Regions from separate parts of the Homo sapiens genome. Here region 2 is linked to region 1. The links are contacts of gene promoters, found by promoter capture Hi-C in blood cells and fetal thymus (Javierre and others, 2016). All regions are on one chromosome and are shown on one strand. Each heading gives the region's core, a stretch centred on a gene start or on the middle of the fragment in contact. The rest is flanking DNA. Distances are from core to core; before and after follow the strand shown.

Region 1 (4,289 bases), core at 1,095-3,594:
TTGAGCATGACACATATTTCAGAAATAATATTTGTTCTGGCATAGCCTAATAACTATAAAATTGAGATGCAAACCAGAAAAAATTTCTTTAAAGTCCGTAATGCCATTTTAGAGGGAAATATTCTTTATTCCCTAGACAGAGTAAGAAGCTGCTCTTGTCCAAATTATGAGTTGTGAAACCTTCAGACATAAAAGAAAGCAAAATTGTTGACATGTTATTGGGACATAACTTTTCTCCCCAGTGTTTCTTTGTTGTAGAGAGAATAAGGAAAAGTAAAACAGCAGCAATCTTTCTACAATATTCTTACAGAGGAAAAAGAATTAGAGGGAATATGCTACCCAAGTTTACACCTGCTTTGTAATTCTTTGGTCTCCAGTTTGACACCATTAAGGAAAGTGAGGATTTCAGCCAATTACAGCTGATGGTTTCATTGTATTTCTTTTTTTCCGATGGTATCACATCCTATATTTCTTTACGTATTGTCTCAGACATACATGCATGTAGTTGGATAATGGGATATTCAACATAGCTTACCGCCACCTCACCAAATTATTAAGCTATTTCAAAACAAGAAATAATGCTGAGGGAAAATTTGTATTAGCTTGATTGATTATCTTATTTTAATCCATATTAAAGCTTTAAGTCTCTAGGCGTGGCTCTTTACTTCTAACACCTCATAAATTATAGCTATAATGAAGCAGTCATTTATCCTGAGCTGATGATAAATGGCTTGCCCTAGGAGGAACTAAAGAATAGGCAAGTAGATCATTTTCATATTTGGTGAAAACAATATTAAGTACCCAGACCTCAGTGATTGCCCTAATAAATGAATAATCTGAGGTGAGGGGCTTGGCAGTCAGTGTAAAAAATAACCTGAGCTTTCTCTGTCATTTGTCAGGCTTTGCTATGACAGCATGCATTATGGGTAAATGAGCAATCAGCAAGAACTATGTTATGGCTGGGATGTTTTTGAGAAATTTATCATATGCATTGCTTAGTACCTTAAGACCTTAAGGCTTAATGGCTATAGTGCATGACTGCAAGTGAGCACAGTTCCTATTTACCATGGTATGCTTCATTTGTGCTCCATCTCTCACCTTAAAGAAAGAAAAGACCTTTCGTGATTGAGCTTCATTTGGCTTTGCTTTCAAAATGTTAAGGTCTTTATATGATGTTCTCTCTGTTGACAGATACTACTCCTGGTAGATTGGCTACAGGAGATTTTGGAGTCGTGATTTCAAATAAAATTTCAGGGTCAAAAATTTATCATGGTATGGAGGTGTCAAAATCTGGATTCCAGTGTACCTGAAGCCAAATGTATTATGGAAAGTGACATTACCTCCTTATAATAGTATTAAATATTTAATGGTACTTAAGAATTAAATGATTTTCCACCCTCCTCAAACCACCGAACAGTTGATCTCTTTCATTTATTACGGAATTGGAAATAATCAAGAGTAGTTGAGATGTGAATGCTTCATTGGAATTATGCAATGTGTTATGACAATGTCTGACTCATTATGGTTTGCTGCCATATGCAGTGAAAAAGGAAATCAGGATGCAAACTCCTCTTCCCAGGCCAGGGGTCTCACATGCACACTCCTGTGGATGCTATTCTAAAATATTTGATTAAAGATAATGTGGCTTTACCAGTACCTCTCTTGCCATAATATCCCAAATTTACAGGTGCCTTTGAAGTTAGATGTACACTGAATTAAAAATCTGGCTTTACCCCTAGTTGGATAAATTTGTTTATTAGTTACTCTGAACATCATTTTACTCCTGTGTAAAATGGTGAAAACACTGTCTTGAAGGATTGTTGTGTGGCACAAATGAGATAATGTATAGAAGATGCTTAGCATGTGATGGGCGACCTATAAATAAATACTAAGTTAGTTCTATATCTTCTTAAAATCCTGGTCAGGCACCTAAGCATTCCCACAACGTATAACACGAGTGGCATTTTACAAGATATGGTAGCAAGGCTAGTTGCTCAGTATATTAGATCAAGGAGCTCATGAGACAAATTCAATTACATGAAAATATTTTTTGAATGTCTACTATAGGTCAGGTTCCAGTGATGACCTAAAGATCACCTCACCATTGGTTGCCATCATCACTATAATAGCTTCTAATTTCTCCCCTCTCCTAGCTCTCATCCATAGCAGTTTCCAGTTGAATTTCCAAACTACAGATCTGATCACACCATGACTCCTAGTTGCCCAGCCATTTAGCACCACAAACAAGGGTTTAAATAATACACTTCTGACTTACCATTTCAGCTTCATTTCTTGCCTTCTCTTTTATGCCTATATTCCAGCTATGCAGAGTTACTCACCAATCTTTCATTTGTAGGTCACATTTGTGCTTTTTCTTTGCCTAGAATGTACTTCCTTCCACTCAACTGTCTTGGCATGGCCAAATCCTTGTTCGAGATGTATTTCAAATTTGAGCTCTGGTGTGTAGCCTTTCCAGTCTTTCCAGGTGGAGATGGTTTTTCTTCCTCTTAGTTGTTTCCTGAATACTTTGTGTGTAATAAACCACTCATCATGTTGTGCTGTAAACATCTGTTTGTGTGCTCTGCTTCCCACTATGGATTCCTTGAAGACAGTGACAGAGTTGACATTTTTACTTCTAGAAATTAACATGGTACCTGGAACACAGTAGACGCTTTATAAAGGTACTTTGTAAACATAAGAATCAATGAGAAAGGTATGATTCTGCCTTTCTTTGGACATCTCAAACTCAGAGTCAGAAAAGTTCTTGGTGGGGGGAGATAGTAGATAACCATCCACCTCTTCTTGTGATCTTAACCTACAAAGCCTCACATCCTGCATTATTCATCTGTTCCCTCCCCCAGTCAACTAAAATTTACAAAATGCCTGCTTTGCCTGGCCACCTTCTAGCTACTGAATGAGAAGGTGCATTTTTATAGGAGAAGATGGAGGTGGAGCAGGAGAACTCTAGGGCATGGGTGGCAGAGGGCACCAATAAGACTTAATTCTTCCACCCTTGGGAATTGTAGACATCTTCACAAGGGGTCAAGAAATTGGGTGGTTCAGAGCAATTTCTTTTACATCTCAAGGATGAGGACGACTTGAACTAATGTAGAATCTTCTAGATTGTAGATAAAATGAAGGAGTTGGATTTCAATATTTTACAATGAGGATCCCTTTTCATAACATAAAAAATTCTTAGACCTGTAAGTATTTATTTGTTGACAAAATTATACTGAAAAAAATAACTGAAAATTCAGTAACTGTTAATTAATTTTCCACTTAGTGAACCACAATGGCATGTGCAGGGAGTGCCTAAAGCTTGGTGCACCCCCTGAACAAGCCATCCTGATAGGGATGAGGGCAGTAGCACTGCATAGTCATTAGGAGCATGGGCTTTTGAATCAGGCAGACTTGGGTTCAAATCTTGGTTCTGACACCAGGTATATGATCATGAGAAGCTCTCTCAGTCTTTATTTCCTTAACTGAAAAAACAGTAATAGTGACCTCACAGTGGGTGCAGGTGTGGGATTTAAGATAATAAAGGTAGATAAAGATAACGCACAACACACATAACTACTACCCACTTAATTATCAGGAAAGGGAGGGTAGCTTAGCAAGTTCTATGATGTAAACTCAGGGCAAGGTGGCTCTGTGGAAGACCAGGCTTATTTGTGTAGCGTGGAGAGTGTCTGTATTAGTTCGGTTTTATGCTGCTGATAAAGACATATCTGAGACTAGGAAGAAAAAAAGGTTTAATTGGACTTACAGTTCCACATGGCTGGGGAAGCCTCAGAATCATGGCAGGGCAAGTGGCAAGAGAAAATGAGGAAGAAGCAAAAGCGGAAACTCCTGATAAACCCATCAGATCTCGTGAGACATAGTCACTATCATGAGAGTAGCAAGGGAAAGACTGGCCCCCATGATTCAATTACCTCCCCCTGGTTCCCTCCCACAACACGTGGGAATTCTAAGAGATACAATTCAAGTTGAGAGTTGGGTGGGGACACAGCCAAACCATATCATTCCACCCATGGCCCCTCCAAATCTCATGTCCTCACATTTCAAAACCAATCATGCCTTCTCAATGGTCCCCCAATGTCTTAACTAATTTCAGCATTAACTCAAAAGTCCACAGTCCAAAGTCTCATCTGAAACAAGGCAACTCCCTTCCACCTATGAGCCTGTAAAATCAAAAACAACCTAGTTGCTTCCTAGCTACAATGGGGGTACAGGTATTAGGTAAATACAGCCATTCCAAATGGGAGAAACTGGCCAAAACAAAGGGGTTA
Region 2 (4,289 bases), core at 1,297-3,796, 290 kb after region 1:
CTCAACAACATTTACAGAAAGATATTTTCAAAGCTACAGTTGAAATCAATGTCCATATTTTCACAATGATATAGAGATTGTATTGGTACTTTAATTGCTATTGGAATATTTTGACATTTTACCATTTGATATGTATCATAAGATGTGACACTCACTAAATGGATTATAAACTAAACATACTTTTCTGGCTCTGTAGTGTTGTTACTTTATTTTTTAAGTGTTTGGCTACAGTCATTGAAATAGTGAAATGAAATTTTAGGATTTCCAATGTAGAGAAAGGATAAATGTTTCATGAAATCATTGATAATGACTTAACACATTCATTGTTTCTTAACGCTGTAACAGACATCATAACCAAGTATAAGTAATATGCAGCATCCACCATCAGAGATTTGGGGTGGGGCAATTATTCTGAGGCCAGAATTGCCTGACTAAGCCTTCTTCCTTCCTTTAGTATACACCTTTTTAGGTGTACTTTCAATAGAAGCAAGCACGTTCAATAGAACACAAATTAATCACAGCCATTAGTGTTCTTTGCAGAGAAGACTGTGTGGTCGCTCCTATGAAATGTTCTGTTTCTCAGGATGAGTTAATTCATCTGGAACAACATTAGTTCATCAAGGTTTGTGGTTTATCTAAAGATCAAATTCCTGTAATTTTGTATGCCATCTGATTTAATGTCCAGTTAGTTTCGTGGTTAGACAGTCATGGGCAGGCATAACACATGAATCTAATATCAAAAACTGGAAAAAAGGTGAATTCTTAAAGGTTTAATTCAGGCATCCTTAGATGGAGATTGCACTGCTGCTTTTCTTTCTCCTAGGGAAATGCATATCTAGATAATGCCAAATCTTATTAAGAAAAGTCTAAATAATATAAAACATTGCATGTGAATATGCCCATGGTAAAAATCTCTGCTTTGGAAGGACTTTTAATGGAGGAGGATAGGAAGAAGTGGGTTGATCTTGAAATGAGATTGTATATATTCCTTTGGAAGGTTCTCAGGCCGTGTACTCAAATACAATTGTAATAGTTTACAGGCAAAGGATCGATTGGCTAGAGTTTACTGATAACCTACTTTCTTTGTGATCTTTATAGACTTTCCAAATGCTTTCAATTTGAATAAAATGTGGAAGCTTCATTTTGTCTTTATTTATTTATGACTGTTTTGTGGGGACTTTTTTTTATCAAGAGTTGAGAACAGTCAGTTGATAGAAAAATATATGTATGGGGAATATTTATGCTTTTCTGAAACAAAGTAATATAAAACTTTATTTACAAAATTGTTTTCCTTAGGTGTTCCAGTGGAAGAGGAGAGAGGCTTTCACATAAGTTTAATTACCTACGATGATGCCTGGTCGAATAAGCCAAATAGGTCTCTTTACTAAAGGATTTCCTAGACTTTTAGAGTTTTAGACTTAAGTGTATTTAGCACATTGGTGCTCATTGTGAAGCTCCAAGAGGGAGCTATCTTTATCCATTGGGTGAAGTTAGCTCTCTGAGTTGACCTCAGAGCCAATTTCCAGGGAATATCTGATAATAACTTTTCTAATAACCAATTAGAAAATGCTGGTGTGAAGGATGTTTCCTGCCATCAAACAGTATACAGGTAGATTGGCTGATCACAGAAATATCCCAAACTATTTTAAGAATAATGACTAATTAGTGAATGCTTTTAATATTACATACTGTAAAAATTTCAAGAAAGAGGGCCTGGAAGGCTTTGCAGGAGCTTGATGAATGGAACTATCACTTTGCCTACTTGATCTATTGTTTCATCTCCTGAACGCTGTCAGTGTCAGAGGTAAGAGAAGTGAAGGACCTACCTCAGCACAGTTGAAGGGCCAAGAGCTTCTATTCATATTTCCAGTTGTTAACCAGTGCTAAAGATTTGTGTAGAGGAAACAAGCAGGAAATGGGCCTAGAAAGACGATAAATTTGACATCAAATTGTAAAAGAGGAGATTGCATTTTGGATTAGGGGCTTTATTTTCTAGCAAATTGGGATCCATTGGAGTTTTTGTTAGTGCGGTTTTTCTTCTGTTTTTTGCTCTTTACCTTTTGTTTTTAGGTAAAGCAAAGCATTGTTATAACTTTGTTATTTTAGGAAGACTAATGTTTGGTGTAAAAATGCCACAAAAACTCAGGCCTAAAAGGACAATAGCCTTCACTAGACCAGTGCCAGTGGGAAAATGAGCACCCTGTAGAAACAGTTTAACAGACCAACTGAACCAATGACTATTTATTGGGGACAAGGGAAGGAGAGGAGTCCAAGATACTGTCCAGGATTTGTGCCCAGAGAAAGGAGAGAGATGGTAAAGAAATGGAAACATGGGGTAAGGCAAGTATGGCAATATTGTGCTATCTGGAGAGGCAGCAGTGGTAGGAATTCCTTTCTAAATCCCTGAAAAAGAATCATCACTGCATCAACTGATTCCTAAGGGGGAATAGTGTTAAGTAACCAACTTTGCTTGGATGTAAATAAAGTAATTCCCCATACATTTAGCCATAATTAATTTATTCTTACAAAAAGTCTCAAAGACAGTTTAGTTTATGATGGAAAGCTGTTATTGAAGATATCAGTAGGAACAAAACTTGATTCCGTCCTTAAAAATCTTACAATGGTCCTTAGGAGGACAAGAGCATTAAAGACACACCTGTAAGTAAGGAAGAACTGGCTATAAACCAGGAGAGAAGCACAGATAATTTGGGTTGAAGGATGGAAAGGTCAAGCCTGGGTGGTAAAAATCAGCAGACATAAAAAATGGTTGGTTTAGAAGTATAGATAAGATTTTATCTATGATAACCAAGGCAAAATAAATTATAGGCTGAGCAATAATAATGATAGCAATTAAAATTATAATAGCAATACCAATAATAATAGCTATTTTCTATTGACTATATCCTATATCCTCTTCATGATTCTAAGTGATTTACCTACATTGCCTCATTGAATTCTCAAAAAAAATGGAATGAATTTATACTGAATTGTTAGGCAATCGGAACTCACTGAAAAACTGTGAGCAAGGGAATAAGTAACAGCAGATGGTTGAGAGGATTAACATCAAGGACTTTAAACTGGTGGGAGAGTGAATGGTGGTCAGAGGATCTGGCAGGAGATCATTGCAATAATTCAGACTAGAGGTAACAGGCATCCAAATTAGGCATTCAAACTAGGTGAGAATGGAAGTCAAGGAAGGACCTGATCCATTTTTTTTTCAACAAACATCTACTAAATACTTGATGTCATGCATTATGGTAGACTCTGGGCAACAGGGGCAAAAAAGATAGACCCAATTCCTGCCCTCTTGGTACTTAAAGTCTGTCTACCAGGAGACATTGTAGAGAATAAATTTCCTGGCCTTGGTAACAAATATTGACCTAAAACTAGTCCAAGATGTGTGTGTGTGTGTTCCTACCCTCGTTTTTAGGGCTCTGGAACTCAATGGTATTCCACCTTTGCTGCAGAATACTCTCTCTTACTGACTGGCAGAGAACACAGTGGGTAGAACAGAACAAACTCAGCTGCAAGCCAGACAGAGACGGACATCTTCATGGGTAGCACAGCTTGAGAGAAAAAAAACACTTTTCTTAAAATTCTTCCCTTCCAAGGTCAGGGTAAGGATTAGGGCAACTGACACTGGAATGGAAGAAAGAGGAAACAAAACTACTTACACTTTGCTGTTCCCCAAAGTATAGGCCAGACTATCTTCCTCATTGTGCATGTATGTAAGTTTACTGTAACCCGTTACACAAACACAAATACTGTGAAACTTATAGTATTTTGACCTGTTCCCATGAACTCAGGGCAGTTCACACTCACGTTACCCAATTTATTTTCCCAACACTCGTAATAGTCTGATATTATGAAACTGTCATGGAAACCAACTCAAAGGTTAAGTGACTTACCCAAAGGTACACAGCTAGGCGTGGAGAGAGGAGGAAAATCAAGCTTCCAACAAACTTTCCCCACAAGATTATGAGTCTAAAAGCACTCTTAGATGGTGTATCTAAAGCTCGAGGGAAGAATCTGATCCTGGAGTTATTGCATAATGTGCTAAATACTATATTGAAAGATTGAATTAATTAAAATTAATAAAATAATGAAAAATGAATTCCTTATAGAGTTGAGGTTTTTTCCAAAAGCACTTACTACCTCACTAATTTAGTCCGAAGTTAAAAAGAATGAGGGATTTCACCTTTTGAGACTAATGATAATCGTAAGCAAAGTTATCTTTTATAAAATAAAAAGATAATAGTAAATTTTTCCTAGTGATATAAAACAACCAG

The links. Contacts are between HindIII fragments. The CHiCAGO score rates a contact against its expected background, and 5 or more counts as called.
Region 2: a contact is called between a fragment that was not itself captured here and the fragment with the promoter of MECOM-AS1 in region 1, in 1 of 17 cell types (megakaryocytes). The highest score is 5.2, in megakaryocytes.

The regions. Positions count from the first base shown.
Region 1 is chr3:169,445,922-169,450,210 of GRCh38, reverse strand. It overlaps MECOM-AS1 (MECOM antisense RNA 1), which reads right to left and starts at 2,344. Exons shown (of 5, transcript NR_134932.1): 1 at 2,276-2,344. The region is part of intron 1 of MECOM (MDS1 and EVI1 complex locus); the gene reads left to right. The HindIII fragment of the contact is 2,681 bases long and covers 640-3,320 here.
Region 2 is chr3:169,153,351-169,157,639 of GRCh38, reverse strand. The region is part of intron 2 of MECOM (MDS1 and EVI1 complex locus); the gene reads left to right. Among named protein-coding and RNA genes, the nearest start is that of LINC01997, 150 kb to the right of the region's middle. The HindIII fragment of the contact is 2,815 bases long and covers 1,139-3,953 here.